Regions from separate parts of the Homo sapiens genome. Here region 2 is linked to region 1. The links are contacts of gene promoters, found by promoter capture Hi-C in blood cells and fetal thymus (Javierre and others, 2016). All regions are on one chromosome and are shown on one strand. The core of a region is centred on a gene start or on the middle of the fragment in contact, and the rest is flanking DNA. Distances in the headings are between cores, read along the strand shown. Region 1 holds the start of CACNB4 (calcium voltage-gated channel auxiliary subunit beta 4). Region 2 overlaps CACNB4 (calcium voltage-gated channel auxiliary subunit beta 4).

The links. Contacts are between HindIII fragments. The CHiCAGO score rates a contact against its expected background, and 5 or more counts as called.
Region 2: a contact is called between a fragment that was not itself captured here and the fragment with the promoter of CACNB4 in region 1, in 1 of 17 cell types (M2 macrophages). The highest score is 6.6, in M2 macrophages.

Annotation. Positions count from the first base shown.
Region 1 is chr2:152,094,566-152,102,400 of GRCh38, forward strand. It overlaps CACNB4 (calcium voltage-gated channel auxiliary subunit beta 4), which reads right to left and starts at 4,479. Exons shown (of 14, transcript NM_000726.5): 1 at 4,384-4,479; 2 at 3,765-3,848. The coding sequence starts at 4,446. RefSeq lists a silencer at 4,388-4,677. The HindIII fragment of the contact is 7,735 bases long and covers 896-7,835 here.
Region 2 is chr2:152,043,422-152,051,256 of GRCh38, forward strand. The region is part of intron 2 of CACNB4 (calcium voltage-gated channel auxiliary subunit beta 4); the gene reads right to left. Among named protein-coding and RNA genes, the nearest start is that of CACNB4, 52 kb to the right of the region's middle. RefSeq lists an enhancer at 6,701-7,322. The HindIII fragment of the contact is 8,488 bases long and covers 1-7,222 here.

The DNA of each region.
Region 1 (7,835 bases), core at 3,229-5,728:
TAGATATACTTATGGATATATAATAGATACTCGGGGTACATGGTCATTGAGCCCGCCCTCTCGTTCCTTGTTACATGTCACCGTACTGTTTGTAGACATCTCTGTCTCCATTGCTAGATTATAAAAATCTTTGAGTACAGGGGCTGTGTCTCATCCATCTTTTCATTCCTCCCCTACAATATCTAACATAGTGCTAGGCACATAGCAAATACTTAAGTGTTTCCTAAAACTTTAAAATATGACTAGATAATCCATTCATAAATAGCCTGTAAGAAGGGCTCTCCTGAAAGAAAATTCTATGGCCTCATTTGGAAAGCCACTCCAATGATGGCAACACTCTTAGGAAGGTCTTGCTGTAAAACATCATTCCTTTCTAATTTGGGCCAGTTCTTGAGTTTCATCCCCAATGAAGAGTGAGAACACTTCATCACATTTCCAAAGAAAGCCTTTGTGTGTACTTTGAAGATCATTTCTGGGTCACTCCTAGCTTTCTTTCCTTTCAGCGGCAAAGTACTTCATCTTCTCACCTTTCCTCAAAGAAGCCATTTATTTGCTCCCTGGATTCATTCCAAAACCTCCATCCCTCCTAAATGGTGGAAGCCAGAAATCTTGTAGACCAGAAACAAGGTCAAAGATTCCTGAGGGGCTTCATGAGCAGTCCTCAGAGTGGAAGCAGGCTCTCTTTCTCAGTCTGCTTGTTTTCCAGCCAATTCAAATGTTCATGTGTGTGCATGCACACATATGTGCATATATAGTCTCAGAAACACTGAAACTTTTTAACAAGCTCAAAGAACAAATATTGTCTTATTGGGTGAGTTGCCAACTGCCTTCTCTGCTTCACCAACAGCCCAGTCTTCCCCATCCAATGTAACACATCGATTTTTTTTTTAATGAAAGCTTTTCTCCATATTTTTGTAAATAATATGATAAAGAAACTAGCAATATATATATTTTTTGGTATTCCACTATCTTCTTCAAAGGCATCACAAAGACTGTGAAACAGCACCAAGAAATTTCATCACTCCAATGTATCAAGAATTCAAATATCAATAAATCACTGGTCATTCTACAAATAATGAGACTCTGTTTTTGTTTGTTTGTTTGTTTGATGGAGTCCTGCTCTGTCGCCCGGCTGGAATGCTGTGGAGCAATACTGGCTCACTGCAACCTCCACCGCCTAGGTTCAAAAAATTCTCCTGCCTCAGCCTCCCGAGTAGCTGGGATTACAAGCACACACCACCACGCTTGGCAAATTTCTTTGTATTTTTAGTACAGTCGGGGTTTCACCATGCTACCAGGCTGGTTTGAAACTCCTGACCTCAAGTGATCCGCCCACCTCAGCCTCCCAAAGTGCTGGGATTACAGGCGTGAGCCACTGTGACCAGCCCAAGGCTCTGTTAACGTAAGCAGCTGTTATGCTTTCATAAAAAATATTTTTTGGCATTGGGGTGATTTCAATTTTATCCGAAAGTTATTGTTAAACTGCATTTGTAATCATTTTCCTTATCTCATCAAAGAAATGTAAATCCCTCAGTTATTTTTATTGTAGCCAATACAGAAGTCTGTATGATGTCATTTGAATGAGATCATGTGTAGTATACTCAGTGAGTTGTAAAGTGCTCATAAAAATTAAGTAGCCCGGGCATGGTGGCTCACGCCTGTAATCCCAGCACTTTGGGAGGATGAGGTGGGCAGATCACGAGGTCAGGAGATAAAGACCATCCTGGCTAACACGGTGAAACCCTGTCTCCACTAAAAATACAAAAAAGTTAGCCAGGCGTGATGGCGGGTGCCTGTAGTCTCAGCTACTCGGGAGGCTGAGGCAGGAGAATGGCGTGAACCCAGGAGGCAGAGCTTGCAGTAAGCAGAGACTGCGTCACTGCACCCCAGCCTGGGCGACAGAGCAAGACTCCGTCTGAAAAAAGAAAAAAATTAAGTACTATTTTTGTGCCGAAAAATAAGATTGTGTATATAATACAATTACAATTAACTCCTGAATTTAAATTAGACCATTTAATCAAACCAATGAATTCCCATTTCATAGATGAAATATATTTATTTAAAAAAATCTACTTTGCTTTAAATTATTCCCAAAATTATTTAGCATGCAATACTTTTAACATTTCTTAAGCCAGCACATAGCAGCACGCTTTACAAGAACTTATATATACATCATCTCAATCAGTTACGGGCATAAATTGAGAAAAGAGTAAGAATATTAGAATATTATTTTGTTTGTGCTTGGAAGGAAGAATAAAGCATTAGTGCAGTTATGTAGATGAACTCAAAAGTTTTAGTCAAACAGCTTATGGAAAGAACTGCTGTGTAATTAGTATTTCCAAGAATTTGCAACAATGAAACACCACTAAAAATAGGCACCTACAAAATAAACACCAGCAAGACCTCAAACAGTTGCATAACAGAAAAATGTTTTTAAGATAAACAATATGTTTGCCTTATCAAATACATAATCTAAATACTGCAAAGGGGATAGAATGCACTTTTAGAATGAATTCGGAATCCAAAATGCATTTATTTCCATAATGTACATGCTTAGTGCTCGCTGAATTAAATGGTAGTCAAAATTTCCGCTTCTGCAGAAAGTGAAATTCTGCATAATAAATATCATCTAAATATGCTTTATAGACCCTTTTAGGAGAGGTCTGAGTTCAATTTTGATATCAATTCCTCGTTGATATGTTTAAATTGATGATAATCACTAAAGAAACACCAGAGCTGCCATCATAGGTTAGAAAACACATTACACAATACTGAGTGACCTAGAGGGAAAAGAACTTCTCAAGGTCACTCCAGCAGCCCACAGGAAGACCTGGGATAAAAGCCTCTTGGTGCGATGACCAATGTCTTCCTAGGTCACCCGAAACCTAGGACACACCCCGACAATTTCTGTTCCAAAGAAAGATCAAGGTGACTCATTGCATGATCTCTCTAGCACCCAGCAGCCAGGGGTGGTTTCATTAACAGCACATGGACAGTTGGAAAACTGAGGACCAATTTCCTGTGCCAAGGTGAAAGGCACCTAAGCATTGAGCATTACCAGCGATCCGGAGATCCCGAGCACAGACAATTCGCACTAGAACCACGCAGGAGAAAGCAAGCACTAAGAAAACAAACACGAAGTGAAGGCGCACCCAGACCCGGAGCTGAGTGCTGGCCTTCGTTAATTCCTATTTAACCAGATACAGCTGTCTTTCCCTAACTAAGCGAATCCAAGAAGCGGTCCTAAAGTGAGAGTAAACTTTCTGCTCAGTGTCTTTCTTTTGACCGGAGCTTGACGATCTCTCCCAAGATCCAGACAGATAAGAGTATTCAAATTAGGACAAAACAGAAGAAACCACTAAATCTCAACTCGAATCAAACCAGGTCCCCGGCCCCGAGGGGTCTGGTTACTCTAGGTCGAGTTATACGAATTAAAGACATTTCTCCACGCACCAAAGATACAACCAGACATATTTCCAGCTCTTAAATTCAACGTCCCTGACTTAAGCCAGGTCCCCACCGAACTGTCCACACACATGCACAAACTAACTTCCCGGGGCGGTGCGGAGACGCCGGGACGCGAAGACGTCAAGAGCCCAGGCTAGAGGGAGAGGGACTGAGCCCGAGCACCGGCCGAGGCCGGGAAGAGACGCGCGCGGGCTTGACCCGCAGCTCCCGCACGTGTGGGCCACGGCCGGCTCCAGGACCCCCGCGCCGCGCGCTCGGCCTCCTCCCCATCCTGGTCTCCCGCCTCCTTCTCATACCTGTCTGAGGATGAAGCTGGTCGAAGTGGTGCTGCCATCGGATCTTTTCAACCTGCTCCTCCGGGTTGTGGTGCCTCGGGCCACCTGGACTCGACACACGGGGGCCAGAGAGAAGCCGGTGAGGACCGCAGCGCAGAGCGGGGCGACCACCCCCGGCTGGAGTCCGCCTCCGGACCCGCTCCCTGGGGTCCCCTAGAGCCCGCACCCAAGTCTCCTCCGCGACTCCCAAATACAGCCCCCACCCCCACCCACCCACTGCAAGCCTCGACTGCTGAAAAGATGCTCGAGAAGAGCAGCCCGCAAGCACCCACCACATCCATTAACAAAGACTCTCAGGGTGCGGGGTCCGAGTCCCCGGCATCCGCTGGGGGAGGCTGCGGGCTCCGGAGCGGGAGCGCAGAGACCCGAAGGAGGGTGAGGAGGAGGAGGAAGAGAAGGAGGAGAAAGAGGAGGAGCGGGAGGAGAAAGGGACGTGGAGGAGGGGTGGGGGGAGCGGGGCCGCCGACTCCCGGGACTGGGGCCCCGCACGCCCGGCACGAAGGCGGGGCGCGCTAGGGCGGCGGAGGAGGTGTGAGGAAGGAAGAGGAGGAAGAGGAGAAGGGGGAGGAGGGGGCGGTACCTGCGAGGTGGGGGAGTGCGGCCCGTCCGCGGTCCCGTTCTTGGCGTAGGAGGAGGAGGACATCGTTCAGAGCCGCCGCATGGCCAGCCCGTGTGCGGTGGGCGGAGGGGGCTGGCCCCCGAGGCTGGGCTGCGGACGGAGGGGGAGGGCGCAGGACTTCCCCACCCGGCTCCAGGACCCGCGCCGGCGCCCAGGCTCCCTGCCCGCACTTCGGAGAGCGCGGCACCTTAAAGGGACCGAGGCGCTTCCCCCGCGCTCGCGGCGGGGTCCCGGGGAGGGGGCTTCTCGGAAACTCGCCTACCCGAGCGGATTGGGAGAAGCGCTCTCCCACCTAGCAAGCGCTTTACATCAGAGCTTCCAGAGGATGAAGGGAGGGGGAAATCTGGGATGGGGGTGGCAAGATTAAAATAGTCTGCACAGTTTAAAATGAGACAAAGGTGGCACGGTTCATGAATCAGGACTTGGGGACGGAAGCTGGTGCAGTGTGGCGGGAATGGGAAGAACCGAGCGGGTGTGTGTGTGTGTGTTTGCTGCACTGGAATTTTAAAAGGGCAAGAGCAGAGCCACCTTCCGCGACTTCACTCATCAGCCTAATGTGTAAGGCATGGGGTTTTGTGGCTTGCTTTTCGTCCGTGTTTTTGTATTGCTTTGGCAATTCTGTCCTTAGAGCTGCGAGTCACACACATCCAGGCAGCTGTGAGAAACCCAGCCAGCCTGAGTCTGACGGGAGATGCTGCCCCGCCAAAGACCAGTATGTCCTACGGAGTTTTGAAGGTCATGTTAGACCTGCTAAGAAGCAAGAGTTGGTCACTGTGCCTCCCATTTCTATGCGAATGGATATTTTCAAGGGGGAGAAACTCATCCTTGCAACCATACACAACGTTTGCCATTGGTTTCCTCCTGTAAATACATACAAGAGATTAATTTGTGATCAAATTAAAAGAGAGGGATTGCGGAAAGGAAGAATAAGTGCGAGGTATTGACAGAGGAATAAGAAGAGGGAAGAAAAGTATATGCAAATTCAAAAATAAAGAGACTCCGTTTAAATTAAAATATACTTACTATCTCAAATCGCTAAATCAGCTTGCATTCTAGGACTTTATGTTTATGGACACAACTACCATGCTTGTTTTAATAATTGCTTGGCTTTATTGAGGTCCTGGTTATATCTTACCATCCACCAGACACTTCCTTTCCATTCCTAATCCCTTCACTTAATCCAAACCTCTGTAACAATCTTATAACTAATGTCCTTGCCTCCAGGCTTCCTGGTGCATGTGCACGTATGCACATGCACACATACACACGCAGAGATTTCATTCCATCTACACACTACAGGCAAAACCATTTTCCTAAAATATCTTGCCCAAGTCACTCTTCTCTAAGATAAAGTCCAAACTCCATGGTCCAACAACTCAGCCTCTCCTGCATTTCTGATCACTCTCCATCTCATTTCTCCATCTTGATCTCTCTATACAAACCTTCCAGCAAGCAGGCAGGTCTAGTCATCAATACCCAAGTATTCCAAATACAATCACATTTGAGCTCTTCTGCTTTGGAATGCCTCCTTGGAATATGCCCTCCCAACAACCTACACACCCGGCTGAATCCTACCTTTCTTCTAAATGGGACTCAGCTCACGCTTCCTCCACAGAAATCCTATCTGACTACTCCAGTCCCACATAATTCTTGTGCTTCTGAAAAACTGGAGCATGTATTCTCTGGGCACTTAGAATAGGCTGCCTTAGCTTATTAGTTTGTTAGTTCTGTTTTTGTGAAAATCTCCTAATTTTCAGAATTTTTAGCGGTTTATCTTCTATTCCTATACCTTCCATATAGTAGATACTCCATGAATTTATGGGGAATGGAGGTCTAACCATGCAGGACTCCCTACTTTAGTTACTGTCAACCCAATCCGTATTTAGTTCTGAGCCATTTTCATAGTTGATACGTGTGTGCATATTAAATTACTATGTGAGCACTGGACTTTGAATTGTGTGGTTTTCCACTGTCCACATTCTCACTGACTTTAAGTTATTGAAACAGAACCCACAGAGGCATAACAACATGAGAAGCCCTGTACACCCAGCTCAAAGCAAAACTGGTGAAAATTATATGTTTTATATATAAGCAACCATTTAAATTTCTAAAAATGGTCCTAAAGGTGCACAACAAATGAAGGAACATTTATTCAAGAAAACCTACTGAAACCCAGTAAGAAAAGTGAGCTTGAGGTATTTGAACCAAGACCTACTCACTCTTTTCATGCTTCCAACTCAGAGAGGGCTCCACGCTATACTGGTGCAGCCAAGAACACAGGGCTCCCTCACCCTTCAGCTCCCAGTTGGAGGGTCAGCTTCCTAGGAGGGACAAAACATCAGCATTTGTCATCCTCCCCGCAGCTACCTGTTGTTGAGACTAAGTTCTAAGCAAGTATGGCAGAGGTGGGGGCTCCCTTCTTCTGCCCAGTTGTACCTGGAGGCTGTACCTTGGCCACAGCAGCACTGAGTGTACTTGGGCCTTGATCACCTTTGCTTCTGGCTCATCGAGAAAGAAGTCAGGAAACGTGGGACTGCTTTGAGTGCTTCTGCCAGAAACATTCAGCATCTAACATGGTGATGTCACTCAGAGAGAGGTGCATCATTGTCCCTACCTCTGACACCAGAGTGGAAAAAATGATGTTGAACCCTGACCTTACATCAAGGATCCCCAACCCCCAGGCCACAGACTAGTACCAGTCTGTGGCCTGTTAGGAACTGGGCCACACAGCAGGGAGTGAGCGGTGGGGCAAGTGAGCATTATGGCCTGAGCTCCGCCTCTTGTCAGATCAGGGGTGGCATTACATTCTCATAGGAGTGCAAACTCTATTGTGAACTGCACATGCACGGGATCTAGGTTGTGGGCTTCTTATGAGAATCTAATGCCTGATTATCTGTCACTATCTCCCCTCACCCCCAGATGAGACCATCTAGTTACAGGAAAACAAGCTCAAGTCTCCCACTGATTCTACATTATGGTGAGTATGTAATAATAATAGAAATAAAGTGCACAATAAATGTAATGTGCTTGAATCATCCCCAAACCATCCTCCATCCCCGTCCCATAGAAAATTGATCTTCCATGAAACCAATCCCTAGTGCCAAAAAGGCTGGGGATTGCTGCCTTATATCATATACAAAAATTAACTCAAAATTAATCAAAGACTTAAAAGAGTTAAAAATATAAAACTATTAGAAGATAAGGGTAAATCTTCATGACCTTAGATTTGGCAATAAATTCTTAGACATGACACCAAAAGCATGAGTAGGAAAAGAAAAAAATGTTAGACAGGCATGGTGGTGCGTGTCTGTGGTCCCAGCTAACCAAGAAGCTGAGGTGGGAGGATTGCTTAAGCCCAGGAGGTCGAGGCTGCAGTGAGCTGTGACACGTCACTGTACTCCAGCCTGGGCACC
Region 2 (7,835 bases), core at 1,729-4,228, 53 kb before region 1:
AGGGATCCTCCCACCTTAGCCTCCAGAATGGCTGGGACTACAGGCACACACCACCATACCTGCATAATTTTTAAAATTTTTTGTAGAGATGAGGTCTTGCCATCTCCAGGCTGGTCTCAAACTCCTGGTCTCAAATGATCCTCCTGCCTCAACCTCCCAAAGTGCTGGGATTACACGTGTGAGCCACCGTGCTTGTCCCAGTTTTTTTTACCTTCACACTTAAAGTGAGAGGGACTATGTGCGTGTATACACGTATACATACATACATACACATATGTACACCTACTGGGGTTCTGTAACATATTTGTGGCAAGATGTCTCAAATTCACTTATTTCTTTTGTTAAATAAATTGACTGATAGAAACCACTTTTCAAGTATTAAATTGCTCAACTGAGCAACATCATTCTTCAAATGTTAAACTGTTAAATTGAGAGGGCTTCTTTTCCAGGCTTCACAAACATTTGATTCTATCAGATTTCAGTTAATTAAAAAAACCAAAAGAGCCGGGCTTGATGGCACATTCCTATAGTCCCAGTTACTCAGGAGACTAAGGTGAGAGGATCACTTGGGGCAAGGAGTTCAAGGCTGGCCTGGGCAACTCAGCAAGACCCTGTCTCTTAAAAATTTTTTTCAAAATCTTTCAAAAACCAATAGAATTACAAGAAAAAAATCCAACTAAATTACTGATGTAAAATATACTAAAAACAAAACGTGCTTCTTTCTCTGAAGCATGGAGAATATCTAAGATTACATCAAACACAAATGCACTTCTTTTAAAACAGATTTTATTTATTTTTATTTTTATTTTATTTTTCTGAGACGGAGTCTTGCTCTGTCGCCCAGGTTGGAGTGCAGTGGAGCAATCTTGGCTCACTGCAAGCTCCGCCTCCCAGGTTCAAGCAATTCTCCTGCCTCAGTCTCCTGAGTAGCTGGGATTACAGGTGCGCATCACCATGCATGGCTGATTTTTGTATTTTAGTAGAGATGGGGTTTCACCATGTTGGTCAGGCTGGTCTGGAACTCCTGACCTTGTGATCCGCCTGCCTCAGCCTCCCAAAGTGCTGGGATTACAGGCGTGAGCCACCGCACCCGGCCTTAAAGCAAATTATTAAAGGGAAATTTTCTATATAAAATCTACAACACAGGGTGGAGAAATCACTATTACTCCCAGGTAGGGAATTTATCAAGCACATCCTAATAATTAAAAACATTTAAAGGCCACATACAAATAAAAACTACTTAAAATGAAATATGTCCAATATTTTCCATCCCACACCCTTTGTTTGGGTCATTTTCTTTGGCTGGAATGAGTTTTCCCTCATCTTTGCCATCCTTTCATGAGCCTGGCCACCATGGCAGGTCCACAGCCTGACTCACTCAACTGCTACCGTGGGTCTCGTCTCCAATAAGAGACCATGAAAAACCCAAGGCCAGTTTCATTCTTCAAAATTTCCAGAGCACTTTGCACCCAAAAAGTTAACAATAATAAAAGTGTGCTAAACTGAATTGAAGCAGGGGAAAGAGAAGATGGGGAAGAGACGGTGGGGGGTTGGTGGGGCGGAGGAGAGAGATTTAGTGGAGAGAAAGGAGGATGTGAAGCAAGGGCATGAGATGATATTGGTCTGGCTTACAATTTCAAGCCAGAAAAAAAATGATTGCCACCACATAACTATGCCTAGCACATACAACTACATAAATACATGTACATATGTATGGATATGGAGAGGCATCATTGGCCAATTTTTTTTCAGTGCTTTCACATGCAGATATGCTTTTAAAGATAAGGACTGGGAATATACCAGTGTTTACAGCAGCGTTAGTCACAGTAGCCAAAAGGTAGAAACAGTCCAAGTGTCCATCAACAGAGGAGTAGCTAAAGACAATGTGGTATATACATACAACAGAATATTATCTAGCCTTAAAAAGGAAGGAAATCCTGTCTCATGCTATGACATGGATGAACCTTGAGGATATCATGCTACGTGAAATAAGCAGTCACAAAAGGACAAATATTGTGTGATTCCATTTATATGAGCTACCTACAGTAGTCAAATTTATGGAGACAGAAAGTAGAAGAGTGGTCACCAGGAGCTGGGAGGAGGAGCAAAAATTCTGCATCTAATGTACTTAGTGCCATTGAATGTATACTTAAAAATGGTGAAAATGGTAAATGTTATGGATATTTTACCACATTTTAAAAAAAAAAAGACAAGGAATGAAAAGGTGGATCAAAGTACACCCTCAAAGTCTTATAAGTAGCCTCTTCTCCCTCTCCCTCACGCAACCTCCAAGAGCACAGACTGGAATTCCCAGTCCTACAGTTCCAAGAGAGTTCAGACGGTACCTTAGGCATAGCTGTGCATCCCGCAGCTCTAAATACAGTGACTCGCAGCTAGCAGGGATTCATTAAACATTTGCAGATTCAATGAAAAGGAAAAAAACACAAGTAATGAACAGTTGGAAAGATTTTTTTAGAACATAGCTTGAAATAGAGGGGATGAAAAGTTCTGATAAATGAGCTAGAATGTAGGCAGATTGGAAATCAACAAGTCTTGGTCCTTAGAGTAACTGAGAATCAATGGAAGGATGGAAAACTTTTTCTTTAATAACAACCTCTATTATAATAAGAGAAAAATAAATTGATCATATAGAAATAAAATCAACATTAGTTAGCTTTTTAGATAAACAAGAACAAAAATGAGTTATTAAGAAGGAAGTGGCAATTATTTTACCTGGAAACTCTGATTATATAACAGTATATTTTTATATCATATGGATTGTCCATTCAGGGGAGGCTAGAATGGCCCAGAACACGTAGCACCCCTTTTCTATATGTGAGCACAGGCAGAAACATCACCAAAATTCCTTCCTGGAAAAAGACAGCTTATTAGAAACACAAATGCACACTGTGGCTCAGGAAGGTAAAAAGAGGTTAAATTACAAAAATGTGAAAGCAGCACCTTTGGCCTAGAGCAATTTTACAGAACAATCACTAAGATGATAATCTCTCTATAATTTCTTGCCTACAGCTATGGCTGGTTTCAACTTGACTGCTGCAAACAGGAGAATCTATTTTGCCTTTTATAAAATCTGTCTCTCCTCCTTCCATCTCACCCTCATTTCCTTTCTGGTTTAATTCTCCACCGTGACTACTCACAGAGTTCTATCTATTCAGCACTACACTTTGACCACTGGAAGTCCACACCTAAGACAGTCCTTATTTCTGCCCTTTTAAGATGTCGCCCTAAGCAGAGGAGAAGCAGGTAAGCTCTGCCTGTTGAGCTGTAGCCAGGGGAAAGGAGATGAGAATTCTGCCTGGTTTTCAGCAAACCTTGACTTTTTAAATTAATTAACCCTGAAATTCATCACAGGGTTATCATCACAGGCAGCTTGTCCAAGCTCAAGTATCTGCACTGAACTGTCTCCAGGCGCTACCACCCAGTTAGGAAAAAGGGTCTCTGACTATCCTGGGCTATGAGCACTGAACTTCTGCTAAAAAAAGATTCAGGCAAAGTGAAATTTCTTCACCTCAACATTATTGAGATGGAGTAGGGATCCCTCTTAGGGGCCTCCCCAGCTTCCTCTCAGCCTGAAAATAAAGAAAAATTTGAGTCCCTTCAAGGGAAATTCTGGGTACCTAGCTAGCCATGCAGCCAGCAACTAAGGAAATGAATAAATAACCTGCTAAGCAAGAAGGTAAAAATAGCGTAACAATAGTCACCCAAGTACATTAGACTCACGAGATGCTTGGTTCCCTATAGAAACTAAAAATAACATCTTGACATATGTCCCTGAGTCGTTTTTCAGAAACCCAAACCCTTACCAGATGGAAAATGTCAACCGCTGTCACACAGACCTCAAATAAGGGGGAAATGAAGACTGAACCCTGAGGACAGTTCTTTGTTGTCAATTTCTTCCTGAGGGGCCTAGAGAGAGTTATGCCCACAGGCCAAACCCTGACATTCCTTCCTGCTGACCCCAAGTTTTCAGATGAATTCTTACTTCCTTAACCAATTGCAAATCAAAAAATCTTTGAATCCACATACGACCTGTAACCTTCACTTCAAGATATCCCATCTTTTTGGGCCAAACCAGTGTATAATACCCATGTATTGATTTACGATTATGCTTGTAACTTCTGCTTTCTTGAAATGAACCCCTGCCTTTAAAACTAAAACCCCTCAGTTGTAGCCAGGCACGGTGGCTCACGCCTGTAATCCCAGCACTTTGAGAGGCCAAGGAAGTCTGATCACTTGAGGTCAGGAGTTTGAGACCAGTGTGACCAACACAGTAAATTAAAACCCTATCTCTACTAAAAATACAAAAATTAGCTGGGCATGGTGGCAGGCACCTGTAATCTCAGCTACTCAGGAGTCTGAGGCAGGTGAATTGCTTGAACCTGGGAAGTGGAGGTTGCAGTGAGCTGAGATTGAGCCACTCCACTCCAGCCTGGGTGACAAGGCAAGACCCTGTTTCAAAAACAAAACAAAACAAAACAAAACATCTCTTGCTTGTAAGCTATTGGAGAGTTCAGGTCTTAAGCATTCGCTGCTCAATTCTCTGTTTGGCACCCTGCCACAAACGCCTAACTTTCTCTCCCTGCAAATCCTAGTATCAGTGTTTGGATTTTTGTGCATGCTGGGTGAGAGGACTCAAGTTCAGTTGGGTAACACTGCTGACATCGTGGACCAGATGACTCTTTGTTATGGTGGGCTGTCTGTGCATTGGAGAATGTCTGACAGCATCCCTGGTCTCTACTCACTAGATGTACTACTCACTAGCACCCCCTAGATGTAACAACAAAAAATGCCTCTAGACATTACCAAAAGTTCCCTGGGGGGCAAAATCACCCCAGCTGAGAACCCGTGGGTTAAAGTGAGATTCCACCCTGCTGCCCACTACCATCAGAAACTTCTATCTGAATGCTCTTCACCCATCCCCACCTGCGCTATTCCAGATAACATGTGTTACATCCAGAAGGGGCCATCAGCAGACGGCCAGGCAGAATCCAAGGGAGAAAGAGAATCTGTCCAATAGGAAACCAACTGGCCTCCACTTCATCCCCACACTAAAAGGGAGAGAATAAAAAGTACCTGCAACACTTGTCTCCTGACGATGAGAGAAGTTGGCAGAGCTAGCACTTTGTTGGCCACCTTCTCTCCCACCTTATTCTTTGCCAATAAGGATTTACCCAGGATGTGAGCAGGAGAGACAGCTCTCTACAGAGAGAAGCGTGTCCCTCAGGACCTGGCCTGCACCCATGGGATGGAAACTCTGCCCTCTAGTCCAGCCTTGCAGTCCACTGGTTATAGGACCTTGGGCAAATCATTTAATTTTGCTGGATTTCTTTTTCTTCAGCTGTAAAGTGAAAGAGCCAAATCTTAGCCCTTCTCTGAGGTTGCTTCTAGATCTAAAGTACTACTATTTTAGGGACCAACTGTTGGGGAGGGTAAAAGAAAGAAGAGAGCAGATGGAGGCAGAAGAACCAAAGAAAGCACTGGAATACTCTCAGGTGACTGTATGGTGTGCACAAGAGAGGGCATGAGCTAGGTTTTTAAGAGAAATATGCAAGCTCCAGGCCATTGGTAACAATCAATTGCAATTTCTAGGATAAAGAAGGAAGAATTCATAAGCGGTAGCCTTGTATGTTTTTCAGCACTCCCTATATCTTTACCCATCATAACTTGTTTTCCTGTTCATACCTTGATACCATTCTCTCCCCCATTTGCATTCTCTCTTTTTTTTTTTTAAACTTTTTTTTGTTTTGAGTCTCACTCTGTTGCCCAGGCTGGAGTACAGTGGCACAATCTCGGCTCACTGCAACCTCCACCTCCCAGGTTCAAGCAATTCTCTTGCCCCAGCCACCCAGGTAGCTGGGATTACAGGTGCATGCCACCAGTACTGGCTAATTTTTTTATTTTCAGTAGAGATGGGGTTTTGCCATGTTGGAACTCCTGACCTCAAGTGATGTGCCCGCCTCAGCCTCCCAAAGAGCTGGGATTACAGGCGTGAGCCACTGCACCCGGCCTGCATTCTCTTTCCCTCTCGTTTCACAACCGTATTTCTCCTTCTCATTCTTTTTTCAGATCCCTTTATTTCTTCTCATTCATTATAATGATTATTTTTCTGTGGCTCTCTTGCTCACTCTCTCTCTTTCCTTCTTTCCTTTTTTTCTTCTCCCTTCCTCATTTTCTCTCTCTCCCTGACCTTCTTCACCATAAGAAGGAAGTAGGTCACCAGCCACAGCCCTAGATTCTGTCTCCCTATAATATCCGAATCTACAGAAAGAAAGAAAGGCTGTGTTCTAAAGCATGAATCTTCCACATGGAGCAGCAAGGGCTTACACAGGTGCCCAGGCGACAAGCTAACTTCCTCTTTTAGGCTATGAATTGATAAACCAATAAAAGAAACCATTTTATTCCTTTTAGAGCGTTCAAGTTAAGACCATGTTGGTTTGACTGGTGACTGTCATTAACCTACAGTGAGGAACTTCTACTGAGGGCCAAATGTGTCGACTTGTCTGCAAGGCAACTGCATCTCAACCAACCAGACCACAGTATGGAGATGGGACACCCAAATGTTTTAATCTGGTCTGCAGAATCCCAGCATGGGTCAGTCTGCTGAGTGGATGTATCTTGGCCAAGCTGGCATTTGGCATGTTGGGTGAAAGCCCCAGGTTTTTTGTGAAATACCATTATCACAGCTGCCCTGGACAGATGACTTTCCAAAGTGACATAGTGTGCTGGGCCCGCTGCCTGTCACGTAAAGACGAGGAAAGAAAGTTTCCGGGTTCTCCCACACACAATTCAGCCCTCACTTTGCCTTCCATCCTTTTGGCACACTGGCTGGTCAGAAATGTGATCATCTGCTATTGATGAAGCGGACACAACCTCTAAAAGAGAGCTCTTTGGAATGCTGGACATAAGAGGAGAGAAAATCACCCACTAGATTTACTCTAAATGAGCCACATCAAATGCAACATGAACAAGAACCTCTAATCAGTTGCAATCAAATGAAAAGAGACTTCCTGGAGAGTAACAGCCAGATGGAAAGTTAAAGTCGTTCAGACCATTAACATTCCACTAATGCTCACTGCTTTTTTAACAAGCAAATGGAGCCAGGTTTGGTAGAGGAAAGGAAAATGCAAGACCAGTGCAGCGGCTCACACCTGCAATCCCAGCTCTTTGGGAAGCTGAGGTAGGAGGATCACTTAACCCCTGAAGCTTGAGGCTGCAGTGAGCCATGATTGTGCCATTGCACTCCGGCCTGTGTGACAGAGCAAGACTCTGTCTCTAAAAAAAATTTTTTTTTAATGCAGGCATATCCACTTGTGGGGTTTTTCTGCTTGTTTGTTTGTTTGTTTTGAGACAGGGTCTCACTTTGTCACCCAGGCTGGAGTGCAGTGGCACAATCTTGGCTCACTGCAGCCTCGATCTCGATCTACCGGGTTCAAGTGATCCTTCTGCCTCAGGTCCCCAGGTAGCTGGGACTACAGGTGCACGTCACCACATCCAGCTAATTTTTTTTATTGACACAAGGTTTCACCATGTTGCCCAGGCTGGTCTTGAACCCCTGAGCTTAAGTGATCTGCGCACCTCGGCCTCCCAAGTGCTGGGATTACAGATGTGAGCCGCTGGGCCCAGCCCACATCCACTTTTTCTAAAACACCACCACCAACCACAGAAAAAAACCCTCAAAAACCACATACAATGACCTAATGGAGAGACAGGTGACTGGTGAAGAAATTTACCCAGGGAGGTCCTTTTCCTTGACCGCCCCCCATCCCTACCCAGCGGCCCAGCTTTCCCTTTGGCTTTTTACTATCAACTTTTTT